2 separate regions of the Homo sapiens genome follow, and region 2 is linked to region 1. The links are contacts of gene promoters, found by promoter capture Hi-C in blood cells and fetal thymus (Javierre and others, 2016). All regions are on one chromosome and are shown on one strand. The core of a region is centred on a gene start or on the middle of the fragment in contact, and the rest is flanking DNA. Distances in the headings are between cores, read along the strand shown.

Region 1 (7,541 bases), core at 2,804-5,303:
CTAAAACAAAACCAATTTTAAGATGCATAATTAGCTTATATACCACTAAGGCAAGAAAAGCCGTGCCAATTTAACTAGGACATGAATGACTAGGCATTTCTACATTTAAACATCTTTGAAATTAGAAGACATGTTGGAATCAGTGAAGTGTGTTATTAAATTACTGTCTGCCTCCCCAACTAGAATGCAAGCCTATAAAGGCAGATATTTTTATCAGTTTGTTTGAGGACATTTTGAACACTGCCTGGCACTCATGGTAAGTACTCAGTAAGTGTGGTTTGAATAAATGAATGAATGACTGAATAAAAGTGCCAAAGTGCTAAGAAGGGCAAATAATATTAAGATTATACCTAGAAATGCAAGAATAAAATTACAGAACATCAAGGATAAAGAGAACATAAAAGTTTCCAGACAAGCTGACTACTCACAAAGGAATGACAGTCAGATTGACAGCTGACTTCCCACGAGCAACAACAGATGCCCAAAGGTAATACAGTATTATTTTTAAAATGCTAAGAGAAAATGGCTATCAAATTAGAATTCTGTATCTTGCCAAATCATCTATTTAAAACTGAGAAAGAAAAAAAATTCAAACAGGCAAAGGCAAAGAGTGTATTACACATTGAGCCTGGTTGAAAGAGAAAGTAAAGTATATACTTACTAAGGAAGAAAGAAAAAAAAACGCAGAAGAAAGAAATAGGTTGCAGGAAACAATAATGGGCAGTGAAATACTGTATACTGATAATCCAATCAACATCTGAGTGTATAATATGTGTATATGTGTGTATATTTTGGTAATTAAAAAAAGTTGAATTGAAAATAGATTTGTGAATTATTGGGATGCCTGTCAACGCTATAAACAATTCCAATCTATTTGGAGAATCTTTACATATGTCATTCCATGATTTTAGTTTTAAACATTCGTAAGTTTTTCATTACTCACAAAATACAAAATACTTCCTCTTCCCCAAATCTACAATTACCATTAATAGTGTCATGAAGAAGTACCTGCAAAGGGCTTGGGTCATACTTGCATCTTTTACATTTGGATCCGTAGTAAGGCTCCTGATGAGAACTGTAATCATCTGAAGAGGAATATGCTGCACAAGGCTTGCCAATGCTACAGAAGGTTCAAATGATGCATCTGTTTTTTCAATTAAAAAGAAAAGGGAACATGGCAAGTAGGTTCAAGTATTTAAAAAGAACAACACTTTACAAAAAAAAAAAGTCATTGCAGCAAAGGTGTTAACTAGGAAGGATTATTATGCTACACCCTCATGGGTAGACTCTTAATTTACAAGGAATGTTAAATTACAGGAATGAAAGATTAGGAGTGAACAGCAATGATCACTCATACTATAGACAGAATACTGAAATATATTGATATGGTTAGTCCATAAGTTACTTTAATTTTTCATAATTTATCGAGTTATTGTTGAGCTAAAATATTAACTTGTAAATCACTAATCAGAAAGGAAATATAAAGAAACATAAAGTATCATTTCAACTTCCACTTCAGACCCTCCAAAATAACTTTAAACTTATTGATCATTACATCCCTCTAAGGAAGATTTTGAAAAAATCTCTTAAAGTAGAAATGAAGGTGACTTTTGGGGGCACTTAAGTATCATTTCAACTCCCACTTCAGACCCTCCAAAATAACTTAAAACTATTCATCATTACATTGCTCTAAGGAAGATTTTTAAAAAATCTCTTAAAGTAGAAATTAAGGTGACTTTTGTGGAGATTTTGCTTAAACTGTATACAAATTAAGCAAATCCAAGACAAGTACCTTTACTGCTACAGTTCAAAAAATTTGGGAGGAACCTAACAGTTATGACAACACAGGCAATAGAAGTAAAATTACAATAAGAAAAAAAAACAAACCAACTCAGATACTGCAAATACATCGTTTGTAATTCTTTCGTAAATATATTAAATTCATCAGAACACAGAACGTTTGTTAAAACTCCACCTTTACTTCTGGTTCTTAAGATAAGAAGAGGACACATCCCTCACAAGTTCAATTTGAACAGCCACACAGTCCCCACTGGTGTTATAAATGAAGGAGAATGCTTGTACCAAGTAGAGCGGAAATGAACATGATTTTGAATCTATTCAGACCTGAAAGGTCCAAGACAGAACAACGAAGGTAGAGGTACTGGTAAAATTCCTCGGCGAGAAAGCATTTTCTAGGCAAGTATCATGTGACCCTTCTCTGCTTTCTGAGAATGCAGTTCATGGGCACAAAAACAAATATTTAAATCCTCGTACTCTTCCTTCCCTCATTCTATCTGTATTCCTCCTTTGTCTACTAGATACTGTAGACAAAAAATGTCACTATTTAAAAACTTCATAGTTATCTGGGATAATCCAGTAATAAAACAAACTGCACAATCCATTAATTCAAAAATGAGGAAATACAAAAATGGGGGAAAAACTCATTACAAAATTAGAGACACGTACAATAAATACTATGGTAAACATCATGCTACCATTAGTCACTAATGAATGGAAGCTTTCTGCAGTAGCTGTCATCCTCAAAGCATTCCAAATAACTTGAGCAGAGGCTGGGTAATTAAGCAACTTGTTTAGTGCCAAAGGTCTTAGACCTGGACGTTCTCAACCTTTAAAATGGGAACGCTGCCTGTTTTTAAAGTACGATGTGACGTCCTGAATAAGGTAGTGAATGTGAATAAATTTGGGATGAGGTATTAGGATTTGCTCTCGCTTAAGAATGTTTTTAGGGCAGGAGGAAAACATGGTGTGAATGTGTGTGTGCAAGAGAGACATATACTGATTTTTTATGAGATATTCTGAAAGATAATGACCCTTACCTGTGGAAGAGATGCTTGCAAAAACTTCTTGCAGGGAAGGCAGTAGTGTGGCAGGCTCGGCCTTCCAGATGTTCTGCAGCAAGTTACTCACTTTTGTCACCTGGGAGACATATTCCCGCAGCTCTCTTTCCTGGGTGGACACGCACTGGAAATGGCCTATCGTTCGAACCAGCTGTTGACAGAACGTGATGGACAATTTCCCCTTGGGGATGCATTGCACAAAGTCGGTCAGAAGGTCGCTCAGTCGGGCACAGAGCTGCGGCTCCGGCCTCTCACACACCATCCGTAACACCTCTACCTGCAGGAGGCTAAAGAGATCCAGCACCGACGGACAGCTCATAATCAGCTTCAGGCCGTTGTGAATGTAGTCCAGGATGGCTACATCCTTCCTGTCCAGAGAGTGGTAGCCCTGATGAAGGAGGCCCAACACGAAGGTCTTGTTGAAGAAGGACTCGAACTCTGGCCGGTGGTATCGTGCGTAGGCCTCCAGCACCTGGTGCCCCACCTGCCGCTGGAAAGGGTCCTGGCCCTCCAGGATGAGCCGGGTCGTCAGGTCAAACATGGCCTCGCACTGCGCCTCGTCTAGCCAGTGCTCCGCCGATTCCACCACCTTCCGCACAATCACCCGCTTGAGGGGCAGGGGATGCGAGGAACTCACAAGGCCCTCCAGGATCTTGTCCATTGTCGCCACGCTGCAAGGCCAGGGCCAGGGGATAAGGAGCGGGTGGCGGCAGCCCCGAGGTGGGGCAGGAGAGCCCCGGGGCGGAGATGAACTTGGAGCGCCGCAGCAGCAGCGCGACGGGCCACGGCCACCGCCGCCTCAGCAGCCACATTTATGGCGCAGGGAGACCCATCCAAGCCGGGGCGGGAGCTAGCGAGCCTGGAGAGCCTAAGAACCGACACCTGCGGCTGGCCTAAGGCGCCAGAGGCCCGTACTCCGCCGCCGCCCCGGGCCCTCGATCCCACTCAGCATCAGCGCCGAGGGGCCTGTCGGGCCCCCCAGCGGCGTCGGCGGGAGCTCAGGGCCCGGGGCTGCTAGCCGGCGGGTGGAGGAAGCACGCCTCCGAGTTCCGGGTCAGGTGTGGGCGTCCAGTCTCCAGCAGGTCGTGAGAAGAAGCCGGTCCTGGGCTGAGTCAGGAGGCGCTGTCACGGAGAGTGCTGGGATCAGCCGGGGAGAAGAGACCGAAGCGACACCCTTTGACCCGGATTTTGAAGTGCCGGCAAACAGGAAGTGAAGGACCTAAGAACCTCCGGAAGGACCGCCCCTCCGCCCCTCTGCCCCTCCGCCCCTCCGCCTGTCCGCCTCTCTCCTTCTCCCTTGTTCCCTCTCTCCCTCCCTGCTCCCCCACCTCCCTCCCGAGTCGTAGACTCCCTTCCCCCCGGCGCTGGGAGTCTCCTTCCCGCCCCGCCGCGCAGGTGCGGCGACGGCCGCGTCACTGGAGAGTGTGTCGAGTCACAGGCGGTCTTCCGCGCGGAGCGTCCCCGGCGGACGCTGCGCAGATGGCTGCGACTGTAGGATTCTTGCCGGCTAGTCTTCGTCGGTTCCGCCTGCGTCAGGTTACTCGTGAAAACTCGAATAAGTGCTATCGATGTGAAATCCGAGGAAAAGAGCATTTGGGGGAAAAGTAAGGAAAACTCAAAACTCGGATTGAGAAGTCTGCCTTGGCTCATTAATCAAGAATTGCGCTTGCGCGCCTAAATGTGACTGCCTTTATCCTGCGATGTCGGTATTGAAGTAAGAGCAATACTGGCGGCGTACCTAGCATTTAGCGACCATCAGTATCAGTAGCAGGCCTCTAGCAAAGAACCAGTTAGTGAGCTTTGTACCATATCGAAAATTATAAGCCGTCCAAAAAAGTGTGAGAGTAAGGAAAATGGCAGATTAGAATCAAAATATTTTTATACCTGTGTCATACAAGGGTACTTTGAAAATAGAAAACCAGGTGGAAATACCACAAAACTTATTGTATATGTTGACACCGAAGATGGTTTACAATAGGGAAGAACAGGTGCAATCATGCTTGTTCTGTTTCATGCCAAATTCCGAAGATTCACAGTAAGAATTTAATCAGAGGTCTTTATATTGGAAAATATTGCCTAACTGTAGCCTGCTTCAGGCTTGGTTAATATAGTTGTGAAACTAGACATTAAGGCCCTGTAATACAGACAAAACTTTAAAGAAATAGGTCATTTAAAATGTCCCGTAGAAAAATGAACAAAATTCTGTTACTTCAGTTTGCTAAATAGTGTTTTGTTTTTTTACCAAGTTACAAACACGATTACACTAATATATTCACACGTCGATTATGGTAGTCTTAAGAAGAGCAGTTTAGAGGAGACAGGAGCTTGAGTAAAAGGGAACTTAAGACCAAGTTGACTCGTAGGAAGATACGGAAGATAAAAGAGAATTGAGGTAATTAATCTATCAGTCATGCTAGAGACAGGAATGATTTTTCCAATAGGAGGTGAAGGTACACAGATGTTTGTCTTTACTGGGAATAATGCCACAGTGGAAGACAAAGGTAATATAGAAAATAAAATATTAAGAAGGAATTAAGTATTAAGAAGGATCGTGGATTTGAGGTGGAGTGGAGGAAATTTGGAATTAATCTTTGTGCTAAGAAACTAACAGGACGAATGAAGATTGCTGAATAGTACCAGCGAAGTGATTATTCCAAAGTAGACAAGAAAAAAATATTGGTAAATTTAAAACTTGACAGATTACTTTGAATTGTCTATAACATTTTCTTCTTTCTGTTAATATTAGGTCTTGAAAAATTGAATATTACAAAATAAGATGTCTGAGAGAACATAGTGCTATTAGTCCATATAAATTACATGTCATAATATTAGACTTCCAAAAGCACCATGACTCTGTATTTTTAAAATACCTCTTGAATGATAGATGCATGAAATGAAATACTAGGTTTTTATACCAAGATATTCAACGCTTATTTCCTTCTTTTGCCACTGGTTAAAAAATGTATGTAATATGCTCTTTTATAAGATTTCAATTGAAAGTGGCCAACTTTAAATTTATTTTATAGCATAACTAAAAGTTCTATAATAATACCATGTTCCTTTTTAACATTTTAAAATATTTTCAGAAGTCTGTGGAAGATTTTTTTGCAGTGAATCATGCCACTAATCATTGGATTAGTGGGTGCTATTGTAATGGGCTTTAAAATTTCATATAAAGATTTAGTCTAAGGCCTCAATTGCCAACTACATGGTTTTACAAATATGTTAGATCTGAGAATGGAAGCTGAGTGATGGGGATGAAAGAGAAAAAGCACAGGATAAGGAGTGATTGTTTATTTAGCAACCTCTGTGTGCCTGGAACTCAATATATTACACTTTATCCTTAGTTCTCAAAACGGGGTTTTGGAAATAGATGTTAATAGCTACATTTTATAGATAAGGTATTGAAGCCAAAGGAGGTTAAAAAAAATAATCAAGTCTGACTCTAGAGTCTCTATTATTTCCATCATACTATTAGATGAAAAGTGTGTGTATGTGTTTATGTTTGTGATAAGCAAAGAGAAAAGGCAGTTCCAAAAGCAGTGGTTAGAGTTGGCCAACTGCAATAACATTATTGTGAGGTTAGTTTTCTCTTAGGAAATTTATATCACCTAATAGAATCAAAAGCAAACTGATTGTATAGATTAGAGAGGACTGTGATAAATAAACCATCATATGAAGTAATTACAAATAATCCCTGACTTTATGAAATTTATATTCATATGTTTTTTAAGTTGTAAAGAAAAAAAGACTGTAAAGAAACACACCAACCACTTTGATATGGTTTTTGTTTTAATGACTTAAAATGGACATCAAGCTAATCTTACGACACTATTTCATTTAATTTTTTTCACAGTGCAAAGTGAAAGCAAGTTTATTAAGAAAGTAAAGGAATAAAAGACAATTAAAAATTAAAAATATACCATTGGCTACTTCATAGGCAGAGCAGCCTCACTACCCTATTTTAAATCTTCCAGTGCTTCTCCTCTTAAAATTCAAATGGCTACTGTTGACTTTAAGGCCCTCCATCAAGTTGCTCTTGTGTCTTTTCCTACTGTTCTCATTTATTATATGTTTACAGCCTTTTTCTGTTCTCTAGAATCTAAGCTTCATGAGGTCAAAAAGAACCCCTTAATTTTATTAGTTACTTCTATATCTAGCAGTTAGAACACTAGGGTAAACAATCTATCAATTTTTTTTGTCTGTGAGATGAAGTCTCTCACTCTGTTGCCCAGGCTGGAGTGCAGTGGTGTGATCTCAGCTCACTGCAGTCTCAGCTCACTGCAATCTCCACTTCCTGGGTTCAAGCAATTCTTCTTCCTCAGCCTCCTGAGTAGCTGGGATTATAGGCACCCACCACCACACCTGGCTAATTTTTGTATTTTTAGTAGAGATGGGGTTTCACCATGTTGGCCAGGCTGGTCTTGAACTCCTGACACAAATGATCCTCCCATCTCAGCATCCCAAGGTGCTGGGATTACGTGAGCCACCATGCCCAGTTCAATCTAACTATTTTTTGAATGAATGAACTTTTAAAAAATGAAATGAAAAACATGGTTTAGAAAAAGTCGTAAGGAGTCTACACAGTAATTTCTAGAACTAAAAAACAAACTCAGCAGGGTTTCAGAATATAAGATAATAGACAAAAATCAGTTGTACTTTTATGTACTAGCAATGAACACA
Region 2 (7,541 bases), core at 2,750-5,249, 3.0 Mb after region 1:
TTGTCTCCCCAGCCTCCATCTCATTTCTCATCACACTCTTTCACACTCACAATCGTGTGAGAAGGAACTACCACTGGATTTTTTTGGAGACGGATTCTTAGCTCCTCCAAGCATGCACTCTTTTGCTTGTTCCTACACCCACTCCATATTAATTCTATTATGGCATATACTGCCCTGATTCTAGTTGGCCGTCATTGAGGTTGGGACTGTGTTCTATACACTGTTATTATGCTGTTCACCCAGTGCCTACCACAGTGTGTGGCACACAGAAGGCCATAAATATATTCATGGAATTATTGAAATGATACCTATTGCTAGACAGCTGAGGGCACATCCCCCGGCTGCTAGTAATTTAGGAGTGCCTGGGCCCCACTTTGGAAAGATATAAAGGTTTGGTTGCTCATATGTGGGCAGCAGAGGGTTCCTATTCTTCTTTAGCCACAAGATACTCTTTTATGAAAGCAGATCTATTGATCCATAGTAAGAGGGAAACAGAGGGGGCACATAGACTGGAATTTCCGCACAAAGGTCTCTTTCTTGTCACTGGGACACTAGGCCTTCTCAGGTGAATATAGGAAGATGACACAGACTTGGTGTAAAGGAAATGGAACCTGGTTGAACTCCTCAGAACTGCCAACTTTGGCTCAGAGCCAGGACAACAGGATAACCTGGTGTAGCTACTTATTCATCAAGCCCTTCTTTCCTTGGCATCCAGAGAGATATCATCACAGTTGGGGATGCAGTCATAGTAATTTCTTTCTCATCACTGCTATGGCATCTCAATTATTATTATTATTATTTTTTGTCATTCAAGAACAATAGCATTGATGCTGTGTCTACCGCTTTCATCCTGAAGTTTTGCCTTGTAGCAGGCTCACAGAAAAGACAAAGATGGTCATGCTGTCAGTGTTGTGCTGTGAGAAGGGACTAAAATTGCTTCTCCAGAACTTGGATTTCTCTATGACTTTCAAGGAGTTCTTTAGGAAGGTGACCAACAAAGCTGGAAACCTTGCAGGACCATATCATGGGATCTGGAAGTAGCCAGCATAAAGGTCTCTGTTTCTTCTAAGGTCACTGGAGTAGATCAACATCTCTAATTCAGGGTGACTGGCATATGTTGCTCAAGATGCAAGCCTTGCTTGCTTCTTGCTTCTTTCTTCTAATCTTCCTGCACAATGAGAATGGGGTTTCTGACCTCTGGTACGTCACAGCAGAGTCCTGCACAGGTCGGTTTCTCAAAGATTCTTCCCCTCTGGCCATCACACAGTTTCACAGTTCTTCCTTTCCCCACATCTGGGGCATGGAGCTTGTGGCTGCCACTCCCATTTTGGAGAGATGAAAGACGGGTGCCTGTGTGTGCGCTTGTTTGTGTGTACACATGTAACAGTTTTTCTTTTGGGTATAGCCCATTCATGCACTAAAATCAGGCAGCAAAGTATACTGTGGTTGTGCAAGAAGAGCTTCATTTGTCATTGGGGAACTCTGTGGTAAAACCACAAAGTGTGCTGTCCCACCTGCTGGTTCCCCAAAGGGAAGGATGCAAATTCTTGTGTCTTTTTGGTTTCCCTTCATGGTAGGAGAGGTAAACAGCTTGAAGGGAATACATGGTGCTGCTATTGTTGTCATTTTTTCCCCAGAATGAGAAACTCTCAATGAATAATTAAATTCTGAGTCACAGGAAAAAGCTAAAATGAGAACCCAAGTCTCAAAAACTAAAGACCCAGTGCTTAAGACCCTCAAATTTGTTGCCTCTGTAAATCAAACTGCAGTCTTTTGTGGGTGATGGAGGCAAGTGAAGGAGGAGGGATAACAATTAAACTACAGTGTGGCCAGGCGCAGTGGCTCACACCTGTAATCCCAGCACTTTGGGAGGCCAAGGCAGGTGGATCATCTGAGGTCAGTAGTTTCAGACCAGCCTGGCCAACATGGTGAAACCCCGTCTCTACTAAAAATACAAAAATTAGCCAGGTGTGGTGGCGTGCACCTGTAATCCCAGCTACCCAGGAGGCTCAGCCAGGAGAATCACTGGAACCCGGGAGGCAGAGGTTGCAGTGAGCCAAGATGGCGCCACTGCACTCCAGCCTAGGCAACAGAGCAAGACTCTGTCTCAAAAAAAAAAAAAAAAAAAAGAATTAAACTACGGTGAAGAGAGAGCAAAGCGAATGCAGAGTCATAGCTTCCCCTCTGTGGCGAAGCCATGTGTTTCCTGAGTTAATAGAGATATTATTTAGTGAATATGTGAAAAAGATAAAGGCCACTTTGCTACCTCTTTTTCTAATTTCTTAAAATTCTCTACATATTTTCAGAATCTGAACGGGCTCTTTTGCTACAGACGTAGTCCAGTTAAATTTTCTGACTGAGACTTGAAGAAGGGCAGTTTGATACAGAAATTTGTATATTAACTAAATAGCCTTCAGAAAAAGTGTGGCAACTTCAATGAAATATACACTCTCTTAAGTTGGTTTTACTGCTTAGAAGTAGCCTCACACCGTATTAAATATTTTGCTGCCCATTTTGCCATATATCCAGTGAATATTAAAAATATCGTTCACTATATAGAACTGATTAATTGAAGAAAAATATAGCTTCTTATCGCTGACATTATGAGGTTAGAAATAGCATCCTGTGCTAATCTGCAATGCCAAGAAATGAAGATGGTTTAAATCAGATCTCATGACTAATGCATAAGATCCAAAGTTCTTTTATTCCTGGCTATTTTAGAAAACTGGGGTGTATTTTTACCCTAAAAACTAATTCTTAAGATTTATTGAAATAATACAAAATGACTTATAATTAACATCTCACAATCAAGATTTATAGTTTACTGATTATTAGAGAAATAATAATTTCTCCATCTTAATTTTTAAAAATATGTATATGCAATGGTTTAAGTCCATATTCAAGAATATTTGATCCTTAGTTGTTATTTTTGTTTTTAGATAATATCGGGAAAGATAATGTGCTTTAATAAAATGGAAAGTTTAGATTGATTTCTGCAGTTGCTAGTCCATTTTAATTGTACTTATTGTGAATTCATTGAAATGGAAAGAAATATATCCAGCAATAAAGTAGGCCTGTTATTTTTGCTTGTTTTTGTTTTGGTCATGACAAACTGTGAAATGCTGTGTTTTTTCTATAGTTCTAGTCTATGAAATCTGCAATCTTTCCACTTGATTTACGAAGGACCTTAATTACTGCTGTCATTAGCACCTAGTGTTCAAAACAGTCTGTTTAAATGTACTGTTAGTCTCACCTCCAAGTCCCTGCTTGCTTTATTTTTTTCCAAGGGTAAGTAAAACAATAATTGACTTAGTAACAACAATCATTATGTACAGTGAGTTAAATATTACACATTTTTGATGCCTATTTCTATTTATTTAGAATTTGGTATTTGTGTGTTCAGTCTGGCCTAGACTTGGAACAAGTGTCCGTAAGTAGCGCTGTTACTAGCGCAGACTTATTACCTGGGTTTTAAAAACAAGTCACTCATTTGCCTTTTTCTTTCCACATGGATAGGGATGACAGACAACTGCTGTAAAGCTTCAATGTTTCTGCCTGGTCATGCACAGTTCTGCAATATAATGCATAAATGTATAACAACAACTTGGGATCGCTTGATACTTTCCTTGGAATAAGGAAACCCTACCAGGCGCGTCCCCGCGCACGCGCGCGCGCATACACAGACACACACACTCACACACGCTCTCACGCACACACACAGGTCAAAAGTTGATTTATTTCTGAGATCCCCCCAGAATCTTTCTTCTCTCCGTCGCCGACGGCTCTGGGCTTCTCGGCGGGGCGGTAGTGTGGTTGGGGGCGTAGGAGGGGCGCCGGGCGCCGAGGCGACGGAGACGGGAGCCGGGTGCTGGTGCGTGCCGCGCCCGCTCCTGCCGGGTGAGAGTCCGGGCCGGGTTTTGCGCCGTGTCCGCGGGCCTGTCTCACGGCCTCCAGCCGCCGCCGCTGCCGTGTTTACTGAGCTCGCGCGTCCTGATATCACTCCGCTGGCATGGAGGAGGAGGAGGAGGTGGAGGAGCGAGAGGAGGAGGAGGAGGCGGCGGCGGCGGCGGCGGCGAGCAGTTGATCATTGTGATGGTGGCAGGAGCAGCGGCGGCAGCGGCAGCCCAGCCGAGCGTTAGGTGCTGCTCTCTGCGCGGCGTTTTGCAAAGGACTTCACCGATCTACTTTTGCAGTCGCCTCGGACTGTCCATGTGTTTACTTCCCCCAGCCCGAGGATTCGATATCTAGGTTCCTGTGAAATGCAACTGAGCAGCCAAAGTACTTTGAGAACACGGGGCGGCATAAACACCAAAACTTTTTTGTGGAAGGAAAATGCAATAAGCAAGCTTGCCGTTTTCCGATGCGGTGTGGAGTGAGTGTGTGTCGCGCGTGTCCGCACTGGAGGCATATGCTTGTGTGTGTACATGGGGTGTGTTTTTCGGTATGTAGGGAGAAAATGCTTGCCAACCACCGGAAATCTCCTGGAATTTATTAGAAAATAATGGATTATAAAAAGAAGGCAAGCAAGGAGCGGATCTCCCCTTGAGTTGCAACCCGATTTGCTGCTGGCTCAGTTTGTTGTGATTCTTTTTGTTGATAGGTGTCTGATGGTATTCCGATAACGTTCCCCCCTTTTCTTCCCCTTGAGCTTTTACAGTTTAAAAAAAGGAAACAAAAACCACCCCAAAATCTCCCCCCCCGTTTTTTTCGCCCCGTCGGGATCGCCGTTTCCATCCATGTGCTTGCGTCTCCCCCGCGTTCCACTTAAACTATTTTAATCCTTGGACCCAAGGAGGAGGCTGATAGGGGGGTGGATAAAAAAAGTTCTTCCAAAATAGTGTGCCCGGGGAGCAGGATGGGGGATTTCGCAGCCCCCGCTGCTGCCGCGAATGGCAGTAGTATTTGCATCAACAGTAGCCTGAACAGCAGCCTCGGCGGGGCCGGGATCGGTGTGAATAATACTCCCAATAGTACTCCCGCTGCTCCGAGTAGCAATCACCCGGCAGCCGGTGGATGCGGCGGCTCCGGGGGCCCCGGCGGCGGTTCGGCGGCCGTTCCCAAGCACAGCACCGTGGTGGAGCGGCTCCGCCAGCGCATCGAGGGCTGCCGTCGGCACCACGTCAACTGCGAGAACAGGTACCAGCAGGCTCAGGTGGAGCAGCTGGAGCTGGAGCGCCGGGACACCGTGAGCCTCTACCAGCGGACCCTGGAGCAGAGGGCCAAGAAATCGGGCGCCGGCACCGGCAAACAGCAGCACCCGAGCAAACCCCAGCAAGATGCGGAGGCTGCCTCGGCGGAGCAGAGGAACCACACGCTGATCATGGTGAGGGCGCACGGGCAGCGGGCTTGCGGCGCGCGTTGGGGGTGGTGGTGGTGGTGGGGGGCGCGTGGAGCTTCTTACATGGGGGTACAAGGGTCTGATTTGCACGGTGGGTGAGGTGGGCTGAAGCCTAAGGGTTAACGTCAACTTTTCTTAGGGAAAAAGCTGCCGTCGTCGCTACCTGTTAATCTGTCAGGGTTGTCAGATTTGGGGAGGAGGGGGCGAGAGGGGAGAAGCCAGTCACGACTGCGAGGGGCGGAGGGAGCCTAGAGGAGCGTCGGAGTGAGGTGCTGGAAAAGTTTCCCCCCTTCCCTTTCTTAAGATACCGATTTGAAAGAGTGAACCCCTGAGTTGAAACCTTGCTCCTCCTCTTCGCCGCTCCCCACCCCACCTCTAGCCGCGCCGCCTCGCCTCCCCAGACCCGTCCCCCTACGCCCACCCCTCTCAGCACATCCGCCGGGTGCGTGGAAATATTGATGCTGTCGCAGGTTCTGGGCGGGCACCAGGCCCTCAACCCCTAGGGGGGAAGCGGGGAAGGAGAGCCTCTCGCCTCCTCTCCCCAGCTCACCCCCTTTGGGCTGAGAAAGTCTGAGAGTTTTGTGAATGAACTTTGAAGTGGGTGAGAAACGAGCGAGGGTGGCTGCGCGCGGGGGTGCTCGCGGGAGCGCGCGCGGATGCGGGGCGCGGGTGCGCTCCGCTCTTTGCTCGCGACTCGGGGCTAGCCCGGCAGGTGGAGCGGCTGGGAGGGTTAAGAGGGGAGCGGCCTGGAGGGGGCGGGAGGGGAAAGCAATACCCAGGGTTTGCGCCAAGAGGCCCCACCACACAACTTCGCTTGGGATTCTTTCCTTTTTTCCTTTTAAACTTGCGTGCACGGAGTCTTTCTCCGCTTGGCGCCCCCTGCCCCGCTGCCCGCCAACTTTGGGGGCCTGCTTAATAAGCCCAGAGCAATGGAAGGTAGCAGGGAGGTAAAAGAGGCTTAAATGGCTGGGTGGGCGGGTTCGAGGTAGGATGAGCAGCCAATGGCTTAACTTCTCCAGGAGGAAGGGGCAGTTCCCACCCCCCAAGCCGGAGGCTAGAATCCTTTCTCTTATCTCCCCTCTCCGGTTCTTTTGCTTTCCTTTCTGGGTGAGGGGAGGCCGGAAGCTTGGGAAAGGTGTGTGCCCCCCCCCCCCGCACCGCGCCGCCCGGGTGCTGGGTGGGCCAGGCGACGGGAATCCTGGAGCGTGCCGGGGCCGCGCGCCTTCGCCTGTTTCCCGTGCAGACCGCCCAGCGATCGGCGGCGCAGAGCCCGGCAGGGGCGGCCCTCCCGTCGTGCGGTTTAGAAATCGCACACGTTCCCGGTCTGTGAGTCCCCGGCGCCGGGGTGGTGCCAGTGCTGCCGTGGGCTTTCGCCGGGGGCTCGGGCCGGCGCTCGGTGACAAAGAGTCGGCTTGGGGGAGGGGAGGCGACGCCGCAGTGCTCGCTCCCCACGTCCCCCCACCCCGCACGTGAAGAGGAACAATTTGTTTATCTTGGGCTTCAAGAATCCTTCCCTCCTCCCAGTTCTCCGGGGGCGCTCAACCCCTCCTCCCTCCCCTCCCAGGTCGGCGCGATCCTGCCCAGTCCCGCCGGCAGCACCTTCCCTCCTCCTCTTCCTCCTCCCCCTCCCCTTCCTCCTCCCTTCCTCCTCCTCCAGCCACTCTTGCCCGCCTTCTTCCTCCCTTTTGGAACGTGGCCGTGGGGGAGGGAGCGGGAGGCGCTTTGTCCGCCTCGCGGCCCAGCTCAGACCCCGGGGCCGCTGGGCTGGGAGGGGTGCTGCGCCCCGTGGCCCTGCCCGCTTCATCGCGGCTGTCCCCGCCCCGCCGCGCCCCCCATGCCCCCGCGTCCCTCCTCTCCGCTCCCCCTGCGGCTGAGCCTGCCCCGAGCGCGAAGAAGGGGCCGTCTCGGTTGGTTTTGAGGAAGAACGACAGTTCGAGTCGGGGGAGGTTCTCGCTTTACAAACAGGAAACCGAAAACCACTGACACACTGTAGTTTTTCTGATTGTAGCCGGAGGCGGGGCCGGTCCCGCATCTCGACTGTAGCTCCGGTCCCTTTCTCCAACCTATTTCTCTCCCAGCCCCCGCCCCCCTAGCGCCCTTCCACGGAGGAGGAGATTCACTTTGTGAACCTGAGACTGAGAATTTAAGAGGCACTGAAGGTTTCATGCCTGCCCACCCCGCGTCCTCTTTTCGTGTATTTGTA

Evidence for each region. Contacts are between HindIII fragments. The CHiCAGO score rates a contact against its expected background, and 5 or more counts as called.
Region 2: a contact is called between the fragment with the promoter of MAML3 here and the fragment with the promoter of USP38 in region 1, in 1 of 17 cell types (non-activated CD4 T cells). The highest score is 7.1, in non-activated CD4 T cells.

The regions. Positions count from the first base shown.
Region 1 is chr4:143,181,429-143,188,969 of GRCh38, reverse strand. It overlaps USP38 (ubiquitin specific peptidase 38), which reads right to left and starts at 4,053. Exons shown (of 10, transcript NM_032557.6): 1 at 2,838-4,053; 2 at 1,009-1,144. The coding sequence starts at 3,519. It overlaps USP38-DT (USP38 divergent transcript), which reads left to right and starts at 4,109. Exons shown (of 4, transcript NR_185979.1): 1 at 4,109-4,462. RefSeq lists silencers at 3,662-3,911, 4,132-4,181 and enhancers at 3,233-4,117, 4,118-5,003. The HindIII fragment of the contact is 4,447 bases long and covers 2,521-6,967 here.
Region 2 is chr4:140,150,642-140,158,182 of GRCh38, reverse strand. It overlaps MAML3 (mastermind like transcriptional coactivator 3), which reads left to right and starts at 3,999. Exons shown (of 5, transcript NM_018717.5): 1 at 3,999-5,323. The coding sequence starts at 4,856. RefSeq lists enhancers at 6,438-7,280, 7,281-7,541. The HindIII fragment of the contact is 806 bases long and covers 3,543-4,348 here.